7 separate regions of the Homo sapiens genome follow, and regions 1, 2, 3, 4, 5 and 7 are each linked to region 6. Evidence: promoter capture Hi-C in 16 types of primary human blood cells and fetal thymus (Javierre and others, 2016). All regions are on one chromosome and are shown on one strand. The core of a region is centred on a gene start or on the middle of the fragment in contact, and the rest is flanking DNA. Distances in the headings are between cores, read along the strand shown. Region 1 has its middle 34 kb from the start of FPR3. Region 2 has its middle 15 kb from the start of SIGLEC10. Region 3 holds the start of SIGLEC12 (sialic acid binding Ig like lectin 12). Region 4 overlaps SIGLEC10 (sialic acid binding Ig like lectin 10). Region 5 overlaps FPR3 (formyl peptide receptor 3). Region 6 holds the start of SIGLEC14 (sialic acid binding Ig like lectin 14). Region 7 has its middle 7.9 kb from the start of FPR3.

Evidence for each region. Contacts are between HindIII fragments. The CHiCAGO score rates a contact against its expected background, and 5 or more counts as called.
Region 1: a contact is called between a fragment that was not itself captured here and the fragment with the promoter of SIGLEC14 in region 6, in 4 of 17 cell types (monocytes, M2 macrophages, M0 macrophages and 1 more). The highest score is 14.0, in monocytes.
Region 2: a contact is called between a fragment that was not itself captured here and the fragment with the promoter of SIGLEC14 in region 6, in 10 of 17 cell types (megakaryocytes, erythroblasts, endothelial precursors and 7 more). The highest score is 19.7, in megakaryocytes.
Region 3: a contact is called between the fragment with the promoter of SIGLEC12 here and the fragment with the promoter of SIGLEC14 in region 6, in 11 of 17 cell types (total B cells, naive B cells, erythroblasts and 8 more). The highest score is 11.4, in total B cells.
Region 4: a fragment that was not itself captured here is called in contact with the fragment with the promoter of SIGLEC14 in region 6 in 7 of 17 cell types (megakaryocytes, erythroblasts, endothelial precursors and 4 more); the score reaches 16.8 in megakaryocytes.
Region 5: a contact is called between a fragment that was not itself captured here and the fragment with the promoter of SIGLEC14 in region 6, in 1 of 17 cell types (monocytes). The highest score is 5.5, in monocytes.
Region 7: a contact is called between a fragment that was not itself captured here and the fragment with the promoter of SIGLEC14 in region 6, in 2 of 17 cell types (neutrophils and monocytes). The highest score is 9.7, in neutrophils.

The regions. Positions count from the first base shown.
Region 1 is chr19:51,827,601-51,830,868 of GRCh38, reverse strand. It overlaps a transcript of ZNF577 not described here. Among named protein-coding and RNA genes, the nearest start is that of FPR3, 34 kb to the right of the region's middle. The HindIII fragment of the contact is 6,940 bases long and covers 1-3,268 here.
Region 2 is chr19:51,431,211-51,434,368 of GRCh38, reverse strand. No RefSeq gene overlaps it. Among named protein-coding and RNA genes, the nearest start is that of SIGLEC10, 15 kb to the right of the region's middle. The HindIII fragment of the contact is 7,506 bases long and covers 1-3,158 here.
Region 3 is chr19:51,500,435-51,503,612 of GRCh38, reverse strand. SIGLEC12 (sialic acid binding Ig like lectin 12) reads left to right here and starts at 1,813. Exons shown (of 8, transcript NM_053003.4): 1 at 1,813-2,306. The coding sequence starts at 1,880. The HindIII fragment of the contact is 28,149 bases long and covers 1-3,178 here.
Region 4 is chr19:51,411,779-51,414,992 of GRCh38, reverse strand. It overlaps SIGLEC10 (sialic acid binding Ig like lectin 10), which reads left to right. Exons shown (of 11, transcript NM_033130.5): 8 at 1-169; 9 at 478-571; 10 at 1,170-1,281. Among named protein-coding and RNA genes, the nearest start is that of SIGLEC10-AS1, 2.3 kb to the left of the region's middle. The HindIII fragment of the contact is 1,768 bases long and covers 821-2,588 here.
Region 5 is chr19:51,805,601-51,808,887 of GRCh38, reverse strand. All of the region lies in intron 1 of FPR3 (formyl peptide receptor 3), which reads right to left. It also overlaps a transcript of ZNF577 not described here. Among named protein-coding and RNA genes, the nearest start is that of FPR3, 12 kb to the right of the region's middle. The HindIII fragment of the contact is 3,247 bases long and covers 51-3,287 here.
Region 6 is chr19:51,644,868-51,648,074 of GRCh38, reverse strand. It overlaps SIGLEC14 (sialic acid binding Ig like lectin 14), which reads left to right and starts at 1,250. Exons shown (of 7, transcript NM_001098612.3): 1 at 1,250-1,352; 2 at 1,435-1,818; 3 at 2,015-2,293; 4 at 2,545-2,598. The coding sequence starts at 1,316. The HindIII fragment of the contact is 8,795 bases long and covers 1-3,207 here.
Region 7 is chr19:51,785,598-51,788,928 of GRCh38, reverse strand. No RefSeq gene overlaps it. Among named protein-coding and RNA genes, the nearest start is that of FPR3, 7.9 kb to the left of the region's middle. The HindIII fragment of the contact is 5,296 bases long and covers 1-3,331 here.

The DNA.
Region 1 (3,268 bases), core at 762-3,261, 180 kb before region 6:
TTTATGTACAGATGGGATTTCAAGTTATAGGAACACATTACCTAGGATGACTGCATTGATGCAAATAGATGAGGGGGGTCTAGAATTGAGCCCTCGGGTACACCAACATTTAAAAGTCAGAAAAGAGCCAGTCAAGGAGATTGAGAAAGATAAATCACTGAGGTAGGAAGAAAACCAAACAAGTGTGATGTCACCAAGAGAATTATATATTTTAAAATAAAAGGGTGTGGACAACTGAGTCATATATGCTTAGGGGCCTAAGATTCCCATCATTATCAGATAAGCATATATGACTTAGATTTACTCCATTGGATTCATAGGCAAGCACCAAATGTCTGAACCTGCAGTGCAGTAACATGGCAATGGATGTCACTGTTGTCCTTGATAAGAGTAGTCCCACTGCAGTAATCAGGACATGAACCCATTTAGAATGAGTTCTGGAGAAAATGTGAAATGAGGAAGTAGAGAAAGAAACTGGAAGTGACCCTTGAGTTTGCTGTCAAGGAGAGCAGAGAAATTTGTTGTAAAGTTCAGGAGGACGCGTGTGGTACAAAAGGTTTTTATGTTTTCAGTTAGTAGATTAGAGAACAGATGTATATGCTGATGGCAAAAACACAAAAAGAAAATGGCATGATAAAGTAGACAGAGAGACTATTTTCATTTCTTCCACTCAATTTCTACTAATTTATATTAGTTAATGCTTCATCTTTCCTCTGTTTTTTTTTTTTTTTTTAAACACTAGAAGCATATGCTATGTCAGTCAGGTTTCCACCAGATAAATAGGACTCAAAATGGATCACAGACCTAAATGTAAAAGACAAAATTATAAAACTCCTAGAAGATAACAGGAGAAAATCTAGATGACCTTGGGTTTGGCACCCTGTTGTTTTGACTTTACAAATTGTTACTAAAAACATCTGGGGGTGAGCTCCATTTGCACTGGCCTTGTGGGCAGTTGTTTCCCTTTTGAAGGTGCCCCACTTGACCTCTGAGTGGCTAGTGGGGACAAGGAGTGATAGCAGGAAGGAATGCAGCAACCAAGGAGGCACTGGCCTCAGCAGCACTTGCTCTTGAAAATTGCCAAGGGGACTTGTGCAGTTGCCATATTACAGGTTAGGCTTAGGTGACTTGATCCTTTCATCCTGGCTCTCCTTTATCAACACACTGAAGCCCAGCATTTTATCATCTTTTCTGACTTCACTATGAGGGAATTGCTGCTACCCAGGAGCCTGGTATCCTGTGGCTCTCTCATCAGTGAGATGTGTAGGAGATCGGTCAGGATGGTGGGAAAAGTTGTAAGATAAATTATAGGAAAAGGATGCAAACCTTCTTGGAAGGCCTGGGATTTGCATAGCTTCAGAAGAGGATTTGGCTGAAGGCAGCTGAATTTTCTCAGAATGGATAACAAGGAAGTGTAAAGGAATTGATCTAGATAAGTTAGTTTACTTAGGCCTCGGAACCTGGTATTTAATCATCTGTGCACAGGACTGCTGTCTTGGGGGGTGGGGGGTGACAATGTTAATTACCCACAAGACGTGTTGACTCCAGGCCTTTGTCATTAAATCTGTACTGAATAAATGCCCACAGTGCCAGCTTGTCGGGGCTGTGGCTACTGACTCTTTACAGCTCCCTCCTCGGTGTCTGTGAGCTGCCCAGTCCCCTAGCCTGCTTTTTCACTGGATATCAGTCTCAGAGTGCATTTTTCATCTGTCATTCGGCCAGGTTGGACCCTGGCAGAGATGGACATAGAGTTTCACCATACTGGCCAGCTCACTCTGGCTGGAGACCAGGACTTTGCAACTTATACCCAGTACAGGCCAGACTACTACCAAGACCCCATGTAACAAGAGCAGCATATATAGCTCAAGGGACAACGTGCCCTCAAGTAGTGGCCTGTCACCAGGGGCCTGATTAGAGAAAGAGTGACTACTGTTCATAGCGAAACATCCTCATTACAATGAAACCTGCCCTCCAGGAGCTGCAGGGGAGCCTGAAGGCTCAGAGAGCTGTCTATATTCACCAGAGTTTCTGGAGAGTCCCCAAGGCAACACCTGACAACAGCAGTACTAAGTTGCACAAAGCAACAAAAAATCTAAAACCAGCAAGCAGTAGTGCTGTCCCAGACCGACCAGGCCTGATACAGGAAGTTAGTGAGCCATCCACATGGACATACATTGGGAAGTATTTCTTTGTGGTAACTGTCCCATAACTTTAAAAAAAAAATCTCAGTTTCCTGAACCCACAATATATCATAATGCAATGGGAATTGAGACTCCACAATGAAAACTCCTAAAGAGGAAAAGAAAAATGGAGAGGATGTAGCAGGCACTGTTCTACTGCAATTAACCAAGGCCAGTGGGAAGGAATAGTAAGAATCCCCTGTCCTGGCAGTGGAGGAAGTCTCTTAATTAGCCCATCTGGAAGCCCTGGCTCTCCTATCTAGGTTTTGTCCTTGTGCCTTTTTATTTTCTTTTTCTTTTTCTTCTCCTTTTTTTTTTTTTGAGATGGAATCTTTCTCTGTCTCCCAGGCTAGAGTGCAGTGGCACATTCTCAGCTCATTGCAACCTTCACCTCCCAGGTTCAAACAATTCTCCTTCCTCAGTCTTCCAAGTAGCTGGGATTATAGGTGCACACCACCATGCCCAGATAATTTTTGTATTTTTAGTACAGACAGCGTTTCAACATGTTGGCCAGGCTGGTCTAGAACTCTTGACCTCAAATGATCCACTCACCTCGGCCTCCCAAAGTGCTGGGATTACTGGAGTCAGCCATCATGCCCAGCCTTGTTCCTTATTTTCTATGGCTACACCTTGGCTGGGCATTTAAGAATATACACCTCCTGGGAACTCTAAAGCATTTATAGGAGTCAAACGTGCAAATGAAATGCGCAAAGTGCTCTGCCTTGGAAATGCAATAACTTTAGGAGAGACAGAAGGGAAAAGGAGAAGAAAATGAGTAAAGCAGTGGGGTGAGTGAGAACACTGATAACAGGATTGCCTGATATTCATGTTGAGTGGTGTCTTTTGCCAGTGCATCAGGAAAGTATGTTCACAATACAGAATTGACAATTTCTGAGTGTTTATGTGCAGAAAGCAAGGTAAAGGGCTGAGTTATGAGTTATTTATTTAAATATGAAGTCTTTAGGCAATGGTTAACCAGAGTAGTTTACTTAAGCAGAAACTCAAAATCAGAAATGTTCATGAAAATGTAAGCCAGCTGGGAATTTACAAATACTGTGGACATGAGGATGGGAATTTACTAGACCTGA
Region 2 (3,158 bases), core at 8-2,507, 210 kb after region 6:
CCGAGGTGGGCATATCACTTGAAGTCAGGAGTTCTAGACCAGCCTGGCCCACATGATGAAACCCCATCTCTGCTAAAAATATAAAAATTAGCCAGGCATGATGACATGTGCCTGTAATCCCAGGTACTCGGGAGACTGAGGCAGCAGAATCGCTTGAACCTGGGAGGCAGAGGTTTCAGTGAGCCCAATCATGCCACTGCACTGCAGCCTGGGCAACAGAGCAAGACCCTATCTCAAAAAAAAAGAAAAAGAAAAAGAAAACAAAAAACAAAACAAACAAAAAAACCAAGGAGACAGGCATGGTGGCTCACACCTGTAATCCCAGCACTTTGGGAGGCCGAGGCAGGTGGATCACCTGAGGTCAGGAGTTCGAGACCAGCCTGGCCAATATGGTGAAACCCCATCTCTACTAAAAAAAAAAAAAAAAAGAAAAGAAAATACAGGCCGGGCACGGTGGCTCACGCCTGTAATCCCAGCACTTTGGGAGGCCGAGGCGGGTGGATCACCTGAGGTCAGGCATTTGAGAGCAGCCTGACCAACATGGTGAAACCCTATCTCTACTAAAAATACAAAATTAGCCAGGTGTGGTGGCACGTACCTGTGATCCCAGCTACTCGGGAGGCTGAAGCAGGAGAATTGCTTGAACCTGGGAGGTGGAGGTTGCAGTGAGCCAAGATGACGCCACTGGACTCCAGCCTGGGCAACAAGAGCGAAACTCTGTCTCAAAAAAAAAAAAAAAAAAAAATTAGCCGGGCCTGGTGGCAGGTGCCTGTAATCCCAGCTACTCAGGAGGCTGAGGCAGGAGAATTGTTTGAACCTGGGAGGTGGAGGTTGCAGTGAGCTGAGATCACGCCATCACACTCCAGCCTGGGCGACAAGAGTGAAACTCCGTCTCAAACAACAACAAAAAAAAAAAAAAAAAAAAAAAAGAAGGAGAAGCTAGCACATGATGCAGCGTGGATGAACCTTAAATATATTCTAAGTCAGTCACAGCAGGACAAACACTGTATGATTCCACTTATATGAGGTGTGTAGAGGAGGCAAATTCACAGACACGGAAAGTAGAGCCATGCTTGCCAGGGGCTGTGATCAGAAAGAAATAGGGGGTTTTCACCTCTTTGATGCAGTTTCAGTTTGGGAAGGTGAAGAAACTTCTGGAGATAAATCATAGTGATTCATAACAACGTGAGTGTACTTGGTGCAACTTCTCTAAACACTGAAAAATAGTTAAAACGGTAATTTTTTTCTTCTGTATATTTTACCACAATTAAGAAAAAAGCTACTGAAGATTTCATAGCCACCTCACCAAAAAAGAAAAGCAGATGGCGAACAAGGCCGTGAAAATAGCCTCAATATAATTTGTCATTAGGTAATTGTAGAATAGAAGAAGAATGAGGTAGAATTACATACCTAAGAAAAATGACTGAAAAGTACAACAAAGGTAACAAGAAATTTTAAAATATGTGGATGATATCACATGCTAGCAAGGATGTGAAGTGATCAGAGCTCATGTCTACTGCTGGTAGGAATACAAAATGGTATATACACTTTGGAGAATAGTTTGTCAATTTTGTATAAATTTAAACTTACACTTGACCAAGTGTACGTCTGACCAAGCACTCGACTCCTAGGTTTTTACTCAAGGGAATTAAAAACTTATGTTCACACGCAGAAAGTTGAATGGAATGTTTATAGCAACATTATTTTAGAGTCACCAGAACCTGAAAACAGTTGCAATGCTCCGCAAATGGCAAATACATGCAAAATGAGAGACCATGAAAACAATGGAGCACCAGTCAACAATTAAACTAAAATGACAGATTTATACCCAGCCCCATAGATGAGCCTCAAAAGCATTATGCCAAGTAAATGAAGCCAGATTTTAGAGGATACATTTTGTATGATTCCATTTATATGACATTCTATAAAAAGGCAAAATGGCAGGGATGGAGAATAGATCCGTGTTTTCTCAGGGACTAAGTGTAGAGGGAGGATTGACTACCTAGAGTCAGCAGAGGGAGGAAATGTTCAGGTAATGACACTTTTCATTGTCTTCACAGCGGTTGTGTATATAACTATATGCATCGGTCAACCCACATAAAATTACATATGATAAAGAATGAATTCAACCATATCTAACTTTAAGTAAATTTTTAAAAATTAAACATAAGATGCCACTGCACTGTCACTAGAACTCTTAAAATATAAAGCATAAGCTGGGCACAGTGGCTCACGCCTATAATCCTAACACTTTGGGAGGCCAAAGAGGAAGAATTGCTTGAGGTCAGGAGTTCAAGACCAGCCTGGGCAACATGGTGAGACCTCATCTCTACAAAAAATACAAAAATTAGCCGGGCGTGGCAGTGAGCACCTGTGGTCCCAACTACTCGGGAGGCTGAGGTGGGAGGATTGCTTGAGCCAAGGAGGTGGAGGTTGCAGTGAGCCGAGATGGTGCCACTGCACTCCAGCCTGGCGAGAGATTGAGACTCCGTCTCAAAAGAAAAAAAAATACTAATTGTTTGCAAGAATATGGACAAGTGGGAGCCCCTTTGCACTGCATGTAAAATGGTGTGACCCTGTGGAAAACTCTTTGGAATTCTCTCCGAAAGTTAAGCCTAGAAATACAGTGTAATCCAGCCATCGATTCCTAGATATGTTCCCAGAATTGAAAGCATGAACTTAAACAGATACCTATACATCAATGTTCATAGCAGCATTATTTACAAGAGCTAAAAGGTGGGGAAAAAAAAAACTCGCGTCCATTGACTGATAAGTGGATAGAAAAAAGGTTCCATATCCATAATATGGGATATTCTTTAGCCTTAAAAATTGAATGGAACTGATACATGCTATAACATGGGTGAACCTTGAAACAACATGCCACATGAAAGAAGCCACACATAAAATGACAAATAGTATATAATTCTGCTTATGTAGCCTTACCTAGAATTGGCAAATTCATGGAGACAGAAAGTAGAATTGCGTATCAGAGGCTGGGGAACAGGGCAAGGAAGAAGGGTGATTGTGCAAATGGTGCAGAGTTTCTGTTTGGGATGATGAGGAAATTCGGTAAATAGTGGTTGCACAACATGGTGAATGTGCTTAATGTCACTGAATTGTACCCTGTAGAATGTTACAAATTGCAAACTATATGTTAC
Region 3 (3,178 bases), core at 564-3,063, 150 kb after region 6:
TTCAAACGTTCTTCCTTTGCAGATTCTCTGTGGCTTCCTCATGTCTCTCCTTCCCATTTTTCTGCTTTTCTTTGCCAACTGGGGACTGTGGGAAAGAGATGGGCCGTGGTCGAGCCCTTCTTCCCATTGAGATGCTGCAACTGTCCTTACGGGAAGAAAGTGACACGGCAAGGATGGGGGCCCAGGAGCAGATTGGTCTGCAGGATGAGATACAAGCTGCAAATGCAGGAATTAGTGGTGTCAGGGAGAGGAGCAGCTATGCATGCCCCAATCCTGCACATTTCCTTTTCAATTATCACAGCCAACTGACTCTACTCCAGGTTATGGGCAATTGGGGACAACATGGGGATGGGAAGATCCATGGAGCTGAGTAAAATAAAACAGATTGTGGTTTTTATGTAAAAATAGTCTTTAGAAAAACCTATGCAAAGCCATAGTATTGAAGGCAGTGCACTCAGATGATAAAACTACATAGAAAAGCAAGGAGACCATTATCATTAAAGTGAGGCTGGGGCATCTTCAGGAGGAACTGCATGTGGCCTATAGGAAGGGGAAACACAGGGCTGAATAAATGAATGCAATTTCTTTCTTCATCTCATGGGAGAAATTTGGCAATTATCTTGTGATGTTCTATTTCTTGAACAGTGATAATTTGGTGAAAATCACTGAGTCATTTTTTTAGGTGGCACTTTTATTTACTTGTATTACATTTCCCCAAAAATCATTGTTTCAAGAAAAGCTGACATGGGTCTAAGGAGGGCGAATCTTGCAGGATTTTCCCCACCTTCCTCCCAGTACATAGCATACAGTTTCAAAAACTCTTCTGCTGAATTCAGGTGCATTTCTTCTCCCATGAAATCCTGTCCATCATTGAGCGTGGACACGCCAGGGCTGGTGTCCTCGCTCCACGTCTCCTGTTCACCTGAAACCCTGGGAGCAGAGCCTGCAGGAACAAAGGGCCAGCAGACCCCTCATGCTCTGGAGTAAGGAGGACTTGTGAGAGAGCAGTGGTGAAGGATCCCATCCTGAACCCAGAGAGCCATGGCCGAGAGAGAAACGCCTGCCCCTTTAGAAATCTGTCCCTTCCCATCCAACATTCCTCCCTTCCAGACCTCACTGTACAACAGTCACAGCCTTAGCTTCTCAGGCCTCCTGTGAACTGGGCTCTTCTCTGTGTCTTTGGTGTGTATCAACACACGGAATCCTCACCTCCACGACCCCGTGTCTCTCTGCTCAGTCCTCCCGAGACTGATTCCCCAACATAGGAGAGAGCGACCACACCCTGCCTGGTACCCCCACTGAAGCTCCTGCCATGGAGAGCTCAGATATCAGGAGCCTCAGTGTCTCCCCACTACACAGTGACTCTTTGGGGACAGTGTCTAGCTCTGCTGTGTTGAACTCCACCTCACGGCCGCTGAGGGAGGAAGGAGAGGTTGCCTGCTCATCCCACCTGCACCCCCATCTCTTATATCCTAGTGTCACCTCTGACCTACAGAGAGACATCCACAGCCTGTACTTCATAGGTCTGGCCACATGGGACTCATTTTCACCTTATGGAAAATATCACCCAAGGGGAAGGGCACTGAGAGGGAGGCAGTGGGCGGGGTGGGCCCTGCATGGGGTTGGAATCTGGGTGAGTCTTTCATCCTCTCTGGCCTCAGGGTCCCCAGGAGTGGACGGGGTAGTGGACGGTGGATCTTCCAGGGGTGACCCGGCCCTGACAGTGTCTGTGTGTGAAGTTCCTCCTGTGAGGTCACCGTTCAGAACCCACCCCCAACTTCCTGTGCGGCTTCCTCGAAATCTTGAGTTCTCAGTTCCTGAGAGAAGAACCCTGAGGAACAGACTTACCTCAGCAACCCTGGCACCTCCAACCCGACACATGCTACTGCTGCTGCTACTGCTGCCACCCCTGCTCTGTGGGAGAGTGGGGGCTAAGGAACAGAAGGATTACCTGCTGACAATGCAGAAGTCCGTGACGGTGCAGGAGGGCCTGTGTGTCTCTGTGCTTTGCTCCTTCTCCTACCCCCAAAATGGCTGGACTGCCTCCGATCCAGTTCATGGCTACTGGTTCCGGGCAGGGGACCATGTAAGCCGGAACATTCCAGTGGCCACAAACAACCCAGCTCGAGCAGTGCAGGAGGAGACTCGGGACCGATTCCACCTCCTTGGGGACCCACAGAACAAGGATTGTACCCTGAGCATCAGAGACACCAGAGAGAGTGATGCAGGGACATACGTCTTTTGTGTAGAGAGAGGAAATATGAAATGGAATTATAAATATGACCAGCTCTCTGTGAATGTGACAGGTAAGGCACGGGCTCCAAGAGAGGCCAAAGGCAAATGTGATGAGGGCTTTAGGGCACGGCTGAGACGGGACACATGTCCTGGGAGGGGGCCGGGGGTGATGGACTCAGGGGAGGAGCTGGACCAGAGCCTGAGCTTCCCCAGGACCGCACCTTGGATGCCCCTCCTGATCCTGCAAGCCCCTCCCCTCACCAGCCCTGACCCACAGGCCTGACATCCTCATCCTGCCTCTGACGCTGGCACTGTGGCATGTGGGGCCTTATGACTCCTTGTTTTGGGGCCTGTCCTAGGCATGGCCGGGGTTTAGCACCATCCCAGGCCTCTCCCCACCAGATGCCAGAAGCACCCACCCCACCCATGCAGCGAGACAATTATCTCCACACATTGTCAAACGTCCTGGGGGGTTAAGTCCTCCCCAGTTGAGAGCCTTAGGTCTACACAACCCCGTGACTCTCTCAGGCCAGGCCAGGGAGGAAGCACTTCCTGGCGCAAACCAAGGGCAGCAGAGGCACCTGAGCCTGGACAGGGAGACTCAGCACACGGCCCCTCCATCTCTCATGCCCCGAGGTCCTCGGAGATCCACATTTAGATGCTCAAAAGACAGGAGGGACCTCCACGATGGTCCAGAGGCCGGGAGGGCAGGACCTACGTGTCTGGTGCAGGCCCTGGTGCTTCAGGGAAGCCCGGAGGTAGGAGGCGGGACACGGTCTCTTCTCCTCCCTGGGTGGGTCTCTAGGGTCTCTGAGCTTTAGGGTTTCCTTCACTCTGTGCAGAGGGAATGAGTTCCTATAGCATGTGGGTTTGCAGTTTCTCTTCCATGCAGGGCTGAGGTCTCCAGCTCCTCTCCAGCCCCCTGTGGGTCCCACAGCCCTGC
Region 4 (3,214 bases), core at 455-2,954, 230 kb after region 6:
CTGGAGGGGAACAGCAGCCAGGACTCCTTCGAGGTCACCCCCAGCTCAGCCGGGCCCTGGGCCAACAGCTCCCTGAGCCTCCATGGAGGGCTCAGCTCCGGCCTCAGGCTCCGCTGTGAGGCCTGGAACGTCCATGGGGCCCAGAGTGGATCCATCCTGCAGCTGCCAGGTTAGGGGGCCGCCTGGATGCCAAGGTTCTTGGAGGAGAAGCTGACTGGGGCAAAGAGTAGGGTCCTGTGGTTGGAGCAGGAGCTTGGAGGGACACAGCAGACCCGTGGCATCTGTATGTAGACAGGAAAACACAATGGGAAGTCCTAACACCTGGGCCGGGGTGTGGCAGGGTTTCCTAAAAGTAAACAGAGGGGTTGCAGATACAATGTCCGCCATGGGAACCGGAAGCCTTAATGCCGAGTGATGAGCGGGCTTCGTGAGCCCTGCGTGGATGGGAAATGCTCACCTTGCCCTCTCCGTGTGCAGATAAGAAGGGACTCATCTCAACGGCATTCTCCAACGGAGCGTTTCTGGGAATCGGCATCACGGCTCTTCTTTTCCTCTGCCTGGCCCTGATCATGTAGGTTAAGAGGAGGCGTGGCGGGGTCTGGGGCCTGGACCCAGGAAGAGGGGAGGTGTTGCAGGCCGAAAGAGTGAAGGTCGTGATCAACGCAGTATACCTCTGGAGGTTACATGAGTAAACAGCAAACTGTTCTCATAAATGCAGAATGTTGTCCAACTGACAAACTGCGTCTGCTTCCCAGAGGGAATGCTGAGGGCAGTCACGCCCCAAGCGAAGTGTTTCTTGTAATTAGGCACAGCTGAAGCTTGTTAGTAATAATATGAACCTGTGATCAATTAAACAGCTGACCAATTGTTACCTCCTGCTCTCTGCTCTTTCTACCCAATAAATACAAAGGGCTGTAGAGGCTCAGACAGCTGCCCTGGCTCACTAGTAGCAGGGAACCCTCTTCTTCTTCCCCTGACCCCTTCCTTTAAAATAATTTCTTTTGTCTTAAGTTTTCATTTCTACGTTTGTCCTCCTTCTTTCAGTCTCATAATGACGGTCTCAAGTGGTAACAGTAGTAACTGTCATAGTGACGGTCTCAGGTAGTAAACGTGGCAGTCTGTCACAGGGAGGTGCAGCAGGGCACAAACAGGTGGGTTCATTTCCTCAGCATGAAGATTCTACCGAAGAGACGGACTCAGACAGAAACCCCGAGGCCCAGGTTCTCCCGGCACAGCACGATCCTGGATTACATCAATGTGGTCCCGACGGCTGGCCCCCTGGTGAGTGTCTGGGCCATGCTTCCACTTTTTCTCTTCTCTAAAGCTGACATCCCACTTTCTGACTTTTGCACCCCTTGTCTTAGCGACATCAAGGTGGGAAAAGCACCGATAGTTCTGAATTCAAATCCTGCCTGGCACTTACTAGCTATGAGACCTCAGCCACGTCACTCACCCCCTCTGAGCCTTCATTTCTTCCTCTGTCTCCTTTGAGAGTTGGTTTGAGGATTAGAATACATGCACTTTCTCAATCTGTAGCCATTGTTCCATTATTACTGCCACCATTGACATGACTACACTTAACTGCTTAACAATTATGTGTATCATCGGGAGGCTGGGCATCCTAGGGATTCAGCACAGGGGGTCTGAAATCAGCCTGCATGGGTTCAAATCCTGCTGTCATCACTGTGTCATGAAACAAGTGTCTTAACTTCTCTGTGCCTCAATTTCTTTAGCTGTAACATGGAGACAATACTAGCGGCCACCTCCTAGGATGATGCTGGGTGTTAAATATATTGTACTTGCATAATAAAATATTCAGAATATCACCTGGCCCCTGGGTAATACTCTGTAAATTCTGGAAATTATTAAGAGATAACATCTTATGCTGATGACTGCAAAATTGTATCTCGTGGCTCCTTCCCTGAAGACTGTCTATGCAACATCTCCATGTGGGTGTCTAATCAGCACTTCAAACTTAGCCTGTCCAAAACCAACTTAAGATAATTCCCCAGCCTGAGCAACATAGTGAGACCTCTTCTCTACAAAAAAAATAAAAAATTAGCCGGGTGTGGTGGTGCATGCCCATTGTCCCAGCTACTTGGGAGGCTGAGGTGGGAGGATCTCTTGAGCCTGGGAGTTGGAGGCTACAGTGAGCCATGATGACACCATGCACTCCAGCCTGGGTGACAGAGTGAGACCCTGTCTCAAAAAAAAAAAGGCCACGCCTGCTGGCTCACACCTGTAATCCCAGCACTTTGGGAGGCCGAGGTGGGTGGATCGCCTGAGGTCAAAATTTTAAGAGCAGCGTGTTCAACATGGTGAAACCCCATCTCTACTAAACATACAAAAAATTACCTGGGCATGGTGATGGGTGCCTGTAATCACAGCTACTCGGGAGGCTGAGGCAGGAGAATTACTTGAACCCAGGAGGTGGAGGTTGCAGTGAGATCATGCCACTGCACTCCAGCCTGGGCAACAAGAGCGAAACTTCATCTAAAAAAAAAAAAAGACTAATTCCACCATTTATGCTCCATCTCTATCCCCATCTTAGCAAATAACACCACATTTTCCCAGCCAAGTCTAAAGCTTTAGAATCATATTTCACTCCTCTCTTCTCTGTCACCCCACAACCAATCCATCAGCAAATTCCCTTCAAAATACAACCAAGCCAGTTCTCCCTACTCTTCCCTCACTACTACAAGCCATGCATCAACACCCCCCACCCCACCCCGGGCACCACTGGCCCCTTCTGCATGCCTTCTCTGCTTCCGTTCTCACCCCCTCCAGTCTTTCTCTCCGTGCATGCATGCTATTCTTTATTTTATTTATTTTTATTTTATTTTATTTTTTGAGATGGGATTTCACTGTTGTTGTCTAGGCTGGAGTGCAGTGGCAAGGTCTCGGCTCACTGCAACCTCCACCTCCTGGTTCAAGCGATTCATCTGCCTCAGCCTCCTGAGTAGCTGGGATTACAGGCATCCACCACCATGCCCCCCTAATTTTTGTATTTTTAGTAGAGACGGGGTTTCACCATGTTGATCAGGCTGGTCTCAAACTCCTGACCTCAGGTGATCCACCCGCCTCAGCCTCCCAAAGTGCTGGGATTACAGGTGTGAACCACCGTACCCGGCTATCAATTATTTTTTTGAAACAGATTTTGTCTCTGTTGTCCGGGCTGGAGTGCAGTGGCGCAGTCTCAGCGCACTACAACCTC
Region 5 (3,287 bases), core at 425-2,924, 160 kb before region 6:
GCAACTTCAGCAGCTAGTAAAAGAACAATGGGATGCCGGACACATAAGCTTGGAATTCTCCAGTGTTTGTTTTTCCAAAAAAGTCCGGAAGATGGCGACTACTACATGATTTAAGAGCTATTCATGTACACATAAAACTGATGGGTGCCTTACAAAAACTTTCACCATCTCCAGCGGCTATTCCAAGAGACTGGCCTCTTGTAGTAATAGATCTTAAGGATTGTTTCTTTACTACACCCTTACACGAGAAGGATAAGCCTTGATTTGCATTCTCTGTGCCTTCTATTAATCAAAGAGAACCTGTTTCTCATTATCAATGGAGAGTTTTACCCCAAGGCATGCTTAACAGTCTTACGCTATGTCAGCATTTTGTAGGACAGGCATTAAAGAAGCCTCGGAATATGTTTCCTACTGCTTACATCATTCATTATATGGATGATATTCTTTTGGCTGCTCCTACAGATCAAAACCTACATCAGTTATTCAGAGAAACAAAGCAGGCTTTGACTAAATGGAATCTCAAAATAGCTCTAGAAAAGGTACAAACAACTTCCCCATACCAATACTTAGGAACTATTGTTACAGAGAGAAGTGTATGGACTCAGAAAGTAGTTCTCCATAAAGACAGGTTATAGACTTTAAATGATTTTCAGCAGTTATTAGGAGATATTAATTGGCCATGACCGATGTTAGGTATTGCTACCTATCAACTTACACATATTTACCAAACCCTGCACGGAGATTCTTTAAATTCCCTGCAGCAACTAACTAAAGAGGCAGAAGCCAAATTACAGCTTGTAGAGCAAATGTTACAGCAGAGACATGCCTCATGGCTACAACCACAAAAACCTTTGCTTTTGTTTATTCTTCCTACCCCCTACTCTCCAACAGGACTTTTGGGCCAGTTTATAGACTAGTCTGTAACAGTAATAGAATGGTTCTTTCTATCTAATCAAACAGTCAAAACCTTGCAAGTTTATCTTTCTTTAATTACACAAATTGTGACTATGGGCAGGCATAGGTCACAAATGCTTACAGGATATGATCCTGACAAAATTATTGTTCCTTTAGACTCTCAGCAACAAGCTGCAGCTTGGGAAATGTCGACTGCCTGGCAAACTGCTTTCGCAGACTTCATGGGCGTGATAGATAACCACTACTCTCAGACAAAATTTTACAGTTTTATAAAATCCATTCTTTCATTCTTCCTGTGATTACTCATCACAAACCTATTCCAGGTGGACAGACTTATTTTACTGATGGCTCTTCCAAAGGTCATGCTGCCATCTATGGACTAAAACATACTCAAACAATAAGGATCTCTGGGGTTTCAGGTCAATGCTCAGAGCTAGTTGCAGTCAGCTGTGAGGTTTTACAGCTCACAGCTTCAGATCCTATCAACTGCAGGGACCCGAAGGCCCATGGGACGTGACCAACTCAGCATTCCACTGGAGGCTATATGATCAAACAGCAAACTGTTTATCATGAATGCAGGATGTGGCAAACTCACACTGCGCTGCCACCAAAAGGTTTGTGGAGGGCCTCACTCCCTGGCTCCTTGAAGTTATCTATTGAGAGTTATCTATTGAGAAATCTAGCGCCTACTGTTTTAAGAATGCAGTCTTGCAAGCCTGCTGTGAATCAGGCTGCTAGCCAGCAACCACCCCCCCCACTTCCTGCTATCTCTTTTGCCTGATAAATACGGAGGGCTGTGTAAAGCTCAGGGCCATTGTCCACTAGAGGCAAGCTGCCCCCTGACCGCTTCTTCCAAATATACTCTTTTATCTCTTGTCTTTTATTCCCACGCTCGTCCCCTTTGTTCAGTCCATCAGGGATCGTGGCAGGCTACAATCAACATTGTCAACCATAAAGACAGGTTACAGACTTTAAATGATTTTCAGCAATTATTAGGAGATATTAATTGGCTACGCCCGATGTTAGGTATTGCTACCTATCAACTTACACATCTTTACCAAACCCTGCAAGGAGATTCTTCTTGTTCAGCTTATGTTGTAAATTTAGCCATTCGCATAGAAACTGCTACAGTTAAAAGTACGCTAGACCCAGAACTGCTTAATTTGTTTCACTTATTCTCATATGCTGCATGGTACATGCCAAACAGGTGAGACAGCTGGTCATGTACAGCGACATTGTCTGTCATCATTTGCTCATATGGGAATACCTAAACAATTAAAAATTGACAATGGACCTGCTTATACTAGTCATGCTTTTCAAAATTTCCTACAGCTTTGGGCTATAACCCATAAAACAGGAATTCCTTATAATCCTAGAGGACAAGGCATTATAGAATGGGCACATCAAACATTACAACGAATGTTGAAAAGACAAAAAGGGGGTATAGGAGGCCAACTACCACCTCAATCAAAACTACATTTAGCCTTATTTACTTTAAAATTTTTGACTCCTGGTACGGATGGTAAGACTCCAGCAGAAAGACATTGGCAAGTGTTAGAGGAAAAGAGGAAAGTTTATCTGAAAGTGTTATGGAAATCCCCAGAAGAAGGACAATGGAAAGGCCCGGTGGATTTACTGACATGGGGAAGAGGGTATGCTTGTGTGTTTACAGGAGATTGACAAGCCATGTGGGTGCCCTCAAGGTGCTTGCAACCCTGGAATGGGAGACTGGAGAAACATGGGGTGGCCAACCATGGGCCCAGTCCCTCCGGTACGAGCCATGAGTCAGCTGAGCCTGAGTGCAAAGATGGAGAGAAGGCCGACTGGAGTCACGACACAGTCTTAATGTTACATTTGTAAAGAATATCACCACTCAATTTGTGGTTTGTGTTTTTAATCCTTATGTCTTTTTGGCAGCTCAGAAGGACCAGCTCCAGGTAAACAATACCCAGTTGACCTGTAAATCTTGCCAGTTATATCACTGCATTAATCATAGCACATTGCGAACACATAATATCTCGACTTTGATGATTTTAGGTTGCATCCCTGGGCTAGGGATTCCTGTTAATCTGTCCGAGGCTTGGGCTGCCACACCTGCTTTGCATTTTGTGAAACTTCTTCTACTTCAGGTTACTTATTGTGCCCGTAGAGCCTTAGGCATGATAATTTTTGCTATCGTTTCCTTGGTCACACTAATAACTTCTGTTGTGATGTCCTCTGTAACTTTGCATAGTTCTGTTCAAACGGCTCAGTACGTAGAGAATTGGACACGTACAGCCAACCAAGCGAGGCTACTTCAGAATAAAATTAACACTGAGTTACAAACTGAAGTGGCAATGTTGAAATCCATGGTTCTGTGGTTAGGGGAACAA
Region 6 (3,207 bases), core at 1-2,500:
TGGAGTGCAGTGGTGCGATCTCGGCTCACTGCAAGCTCCACCTCCCGGGTTACGCCGTCCTCCTGCCTCAGCCCCCCCAGTAGCTGGGACTACAGGCGCCCGCCACCACGCCCGGCTAATTTTTTGTATTTTTAGTAGAGACGGGGTTTCACCATGTTAGCCAGGACGGTCTTGATCTCCTGACCTCGTGATCCACCCGCCTCGGTCTCCCAAAGTGCTGGGATTACAGGCGTGAGCCACTGCGCCCGGCCTTCTTTTTTTACTGTTCTTCGTGGAGCAGGGGTATGCATAAGCAGTGTGCCCAGAGGAGCCCCCACTAGGATTTTTGACTTACCTTCTCATCCTAAGAGTTTATCCTTTGCTGTATCTCCAGCTCCTAAAACAGGGGGCCTGGTGCACCATAGGCGCCCATGAAGCATCAGTTGAATGAGTGAATTCTCGGGGCCAGACACTGTCCTAAGCACTTTACACATGAGACCTCACTGAATCCCCACACAGCAATTCTATTATTGTCTGCATTTTTCAGCTGAGCAAACTGAGGCACAGAGAGGGTAGGTAACTTTTGTAAAGTTCAACAGCCGGTAGGTGAGGGGTCTGGGTTCACACTTGGTATTCCATATCCTCAACGTTCACATTTCAAATGCCCGGCTCTCAAGCCTCATCTGGCTGTCAACATCAGGGATGGGGTCTGACGCTGCCTGGGACAAGGACAAGGATGAGATGAGGTTCCCAAATCCAACTGGTGGTGGGGACCACATCTCTCTTGACTGCTAAGGACCCGGTCATGTCCACCTGATGTGTTTGTCCCTGACAACTTGCCTTCCCTCTGGAAAGAGGAAAGTCTTCCCCACCTGAAACCCCCAGCGTGTGCTTCCCTCACCACAGCTCCTATCATGTCATAAAGGATTTATTCTCCCATCTCGCTGAGGGTCCCGAGGCCCTGACTCCCAGGGAGCTGGCCAAGTGGTGTTCTCCTTCCTATGTAGACAAAGGTGCATAAGGAAAGTGCTGCAGCTATGGGACCTGGTGACCTCAGGAGTCTAGACTTACAAGTCTGGACAAGCCCCTCTGGGGGCCTCAGTATCTTCACCATCGGCGTCCAGTGGGGGTGGGAGCAGAATGGCTTCCCAGCCCCAGCCTCACCCCAACAGCACGTGATGCCCAAGTTCCCCTTCTGTGCGCGTCCACAGCTCTCACTCACCCTCCGGCTTCCTGTCGGGGCTTTCTCAGCCCCACCCCACGTTTGGACATTTGGAGCATTTCCTTCCCTGACAGCCGGACCTGGGACTGGGCTGGGGCCCTGGCGGATGGAGACATGCTGCCCCTGCTGCTGCTGCCCCTGCTGTGGGGGGGTGAGTGAGCTGAGGGAGGAGGGACAGGCACAGGGGTGAGAAGGGGGGCTGGAGCTGCAGCTGAGCTTCTGTGTCCCCCCAGGGTCCCTGCAGGAGAAGCCAGTGTACGAGCTGCAAGTGCAGAAGTCGGTGACGGTGCAGGAGGGCCTGTGCGTCCTTGTGCCCTGCTCCTTCTCTTACCCCTGGAGATCCTGGTATTCCTCTCCCCCACTCTACGTCTACTGGTTCCGGGACGGGGAGATCCCATACTACGCTGAGGTTGTGGCCACAAACAACCCAGACAGAAGAGTGAAGCCAGAGACCCAGGGCCGATTCCGCCTCCTTGGGGATGTCCAGAAGAAGAACTGCTCCCTGAGCATCGGAGATGCCAGAATGGAGGACACGGGAAGCTATTTCTTCCGCGTGGAGAGAGGAAGGGATGTAAAATATAGCTACCAACAGAATAAGCTGAACTTGGAGGTGACAGGTATGGCAGGAACCCTAGGAGAGGACCCTGGGACGTGGAGACCCCCGTATGAGAACAGGGACAGGAGTTGGGCAGGGGCGGCTGGAGGAGGTGTAGGACTTGGGGCAGGTCGGGGCCTGAGGCCTGGCCACTCTCGGGGTCACACCTTACGTCCTCAAGCCCCTGGGGCCCAGGTATCTCCCTGTCTCCTCCTCAGCCCTGATAGAGAAACCCGACATCCACTTTCTGGAGCCTCTGGAGTCCGGCCGCCCCACAAGGCTGAGCTGCAGCCTTCCAGGATCCTGTGAAGCGGGACCACCTCTCACATTCTCCTGGACGGGGAATGCCCTCAGCCCCCTGGACCCCGAGACCACCCGCTCCTCGGAGCTCACCCTCACCCCCAGGCCCGAGGACCATGGCACCAACCTCACCTGTCAGGTGAAACGCCAAGGAGCTCAGGTGACCACGGAGAGAACTGTCCAGCTCAATGTCTCCTGTGAGTGGTGCTGGGGACACAGCTGAGTCCCCAAGGGCAGTGGGAGTGAGGGGGGTGTGTGTGTGTGTGTGTGTGTGTGTGTAGAAGAGAGAGAGAGAAAGAGAATGATAACCAGGGAAAACTCGTGTGTGGGCAGGAAGGACAGCGGTCCCCACCTGGTGGGTTTCTGTGGCCCCTCCTTGGGTCCCTCCCGGGACCACGCCCATCCCTCTTGTCACCTCTGAAGCTGGTGCTGTATCTTTCTATCCCAGATGCTCCACAGAACCTCGCCATCAGCATCTTCTTCAGAAATGGCACAGGCACAGGTAGGAAAGACCCTCTTCCCTCTGGGGCTGTGATGGGAGCCTTCTATTAGCTCAGGGTTCAGCATTGGGAGAGGAGACCCTCCCTCACCCCTCAGCCCCTGGGTCTGGGTCCTTCCTGCTCCCAACCCCCCAATCCCAGTCACTAAGATCTTGCACGAACAGACCTAGTATTTCTTTTGGCTTCTCCCTTTTCTCTGCTCTCTTTTTCAGATTTATTTTTTCATTGTGAGAAAATACACATAGCACAAAATTTGTCATCTTAGCCATTTTAAAGAGTACAGTTCAGCAGTGTTAAATGTGTTCACATTGTTGCAAAACCAAACTGCAGAGCTCCTTTTATCTGGCAAAACTGAAACTTTGTACCCACTGAACAGCGACTTTCCACTTCCCCCTCCTGCCACCGAGCAGTCACCATTCTACTTTTCTGTCTCTGTGAGTTTGAGTACTCAGGACACGCTGTTCCCTTTTCTTGAATTTCTGCCTGCTCCGATGTCCTCTGATGCATGCCCTGCTTCATCTCTAACTGATCGTCCTTTTTGGGAGCCTTCGACTTTCCCACCTCCCACAGCTCTGTCCCAGAACCCAGTTCTTCCCCTCCACATTCCTGAG
Region 7 (3,331 bases), core at 435-2,934, 140 kb before region 6:
ACAGTGGCATGATCTCAGCTCACCGCAACCTCCACTTCCCAGGTTCAAGTGATTCTCCTGCCTCAGCCTCCTGAGTAGCTGGGATTATAGGCATGCGCCACCATGCTCGGCTTATTTCTGTATTTTTAGCACAGATGGGGTCTCGCCGTGTTGGCCAGGCTGGTCTCGAACTCCTGACCAGCCTGGTGATCCGTCCACCTCGACCTCCCAAAGTGCTGGGATTACAGGTGTGAGCCACCATACCCAACTGCTTATGTTTTAATAACGAGAGTTTATGGGAAACATGCAGAGGCATCCAGGAACCCAGTTTTAGGAAGAATAATTGGACTTCAAAAGACTTGCAAATGTGTTTGGCAATTAGTCTCTGTGGGGTCCTTTGCCTCTTTTTTTCTCTTGACATCTGGGTCCTTCTCCTTTATGCATAATGGTGTCCTCTGCCATTTCCCTTATTTTAATTCCCCCCTCCCAACCATCACACACACACAGTATTTTGGTTTCCTTGTGCCTCTTAGACACATCTATACTTCTTACCCTTCCTTCCTTGGGAATCTTCTAAAATGCTTCTTGTTATTAGGACCCAAAGATAAATTTTTATAAAATAAATCTGAACATATCTCGCCTCAGATCTAAAATTTTCAGTATTTTTTCATTTCATCCCTATCTTCCTGGCATGAGATGCTGTATTGTGAGACCAGGAGCTATGGCAGCTATCTTGGGGCCGTGAGGTGGCAATTTCCAGGAAAAAAAAAACACACCAAAATAGTGATGAAAAAGTGAAAAGATCAAAATAAACTTATTAAATGATATAATTTGGACAGAAAGTAATTTAGTACTACTCACTTGCAAAATTCTTGGAAAGCAAATAAACCATAAATGTTGTCTTTGGTTTAAGCCATTGTTAGGTGTAATTTTAAATTATAAACTACTTAAAATTGTAAACAGCCTTAATGACACAAAGCCTTGGGAATAATGCTTTTAGGTGGACTACCTTATTTCTGTCTCTGCTTCCCATTTATCTCCATACCACTCTGATACCCTTGGATAGAACCTAATATTTCAGAAAGCCCACCACCTCTTTGCACTAGAAACCTACAAATGAGCTTCCACTGGAGCCAAAAATTATGGGGTTAATCTTGGGGTGCCTGGGTGTGGATGCTCTGTCCTGTCAACTTCTCTGCCTCCCTTCAATCTCTCAGTGGTTTTGGTCTCCATCCTTCTCGTCTTCATTCTGCCTTTCATTGCTTCCCTCTAATTCTTCTGTTACTGGAAGGGGTCCTGATCCAGACCCCAAGGGAGGGTTCTTGATCTCGCACAAGGAAGAATTCAGCGTGACTCCATAGAATAAAGTGAAAACAAGTTTATTAAGAAAGTAAAGGAATAAAGCATGGCTATTCCATAGACAAAGTAGCCCTGAGGGCTGCTAGTTGGCCATTTTTATGGTTATTTCTTGATGATACGCTAAACAAGGGGTGGATTATTCATTCCTCCCCTTTTTAGACCATATAGGGTAACTTCCTGACGTTGCCATGGCATCTGTAACCTGTCATGGCACTGGTGGGGGTGTAGCAGTGAGGACGACCAGAGGTCACTCTCGTGGCCATCTTGATTTTGGTGGCTTTTGGCCGGCTTCTTTACTGCAACCTGTTTTATCAGCAAGGTCTTTATGACCTGTTTTTTTGTGCTGAACTCCTATCTCATCCTGTGACTTAGAATGCCTTCACTGTCTGGGAATGCAGCCCAGTAGGTCTCAGCCTAATTTTACCCAGCTACTATTCAACATGGAGTTGCTCTGGTTCCAGTGCCTCTGACATCATTACAGTACTTGCTCCTCTCTTTACCTTGACCCTTGGAGAGAGAAGGGTCCTGGACACCCAGATTCCTTGGCCCTTTAGGTTGAGAGGGTTGAATCTCTGCATCCCACAAAGACTGAGGTTGAGAAACACAGTCAGGTACTTTAGTTCCTAAATGGGCCCACAACAATCCACTGCTATTAAAACAAGTAGTATATTGGTGTGTTCTTAGGGCCATTAAAAATCAGAAGGAGCTCTGCTTTCTGTTTCCTGTTCCCCAACTGGTTTCAGTTCTCTTACTCCTCCTCCTGTCCCTTGGGCTAACTTCTGCTGTGAAAATTACATGACAGTGACTCTCTCCAGGAGATCAGGACCTAGAACTTCCCAGAGCAAGGACCCAGCTGGTGGAATATAAAATCCAGATGAAGAACATATCTCTGGGGATGGGGAGCTTGTTAAGGGCATACTTAATAGACGCTTTGGAGTACAATAGACTCTTTGGAGTGAGTAGAAGAATGTGAAGTTGAAGAATAATTTCTTTTCTTTTCTTTTTTACTTTAAGTTCTGGGGTACACGTGCAGAATGTGCAGGTTTGTTTCATAGGTATACATGTGCCATGGTGGTTTGCTGCACCCATCAACCTGTCATCTGCATTAGGTATTTCTCCTAATGCTATCCCTCCCCTAGCCCCCCAGCCCCCGACAGACCCCAGTGTGTGATATTCCCCATCCCTGTGTCCATGTGTTCTCATTGTTCAACTCCCACTTAGGAGTGAGAACATGTAAGAGATTCTAGGCAGGGCGCGGTGGCTCACACCTGTAGTCCCAGCACTTTAGGAGGCCGAGGCGGGTGGATCACGAGGTCAGGAGATCGAGACCATCCTGGCTAACACGGTGAAACCTGTCTCTACTAAAAATACAAAAAATTAGCCGGGCGTGGTGGTGGGCGCCTGTAGTCCCAGCTACTCGGGAGGCTGAAGCAGGAGAATGGCGTGAACCCGGCAGGGCGGAGCTTGCAGTGAGCCGAGGTTGTGCCACAGCACTCCAGCCTGGGCGACAGGAGCGAAACTCCGTCTCGAAAAAAAATAAATAAATAAAAACAAACAAAAAACCCTCAATCTAAGTTTTACCTCCTTTATAAAAACTAATCCAAAATGGATTACAGATTTAAATATTAAATGCAAAACTACTAACTTTTTAGAAGAAAACATAGAAGAAATAGTGAAGACTTAAGGCTAAGCAGGGAGTTCATAGACACGACACCAAAAGCACAATCCATAGAAGAAAAAAGTATAAATTGGACTTAATTAAAATGGAAAATATTTACTCTTTTGAAAGTTGCTATTCGGCTTCAGAGTCAATATAAAAATTTTAAAAACATAGCAAATCATGACATTCCCCTGCTCTTCATTCTCCAGTGGTTTCCAAATTTCTAACTCATGCTTACCAAGCTCTACCAGAACTGGCGCAGACATCATTCGGTGGAAATCTACTCCCCTTTCACAGAATAGCAGGTGAATGCAGAGGCTGTTTCAATAGATG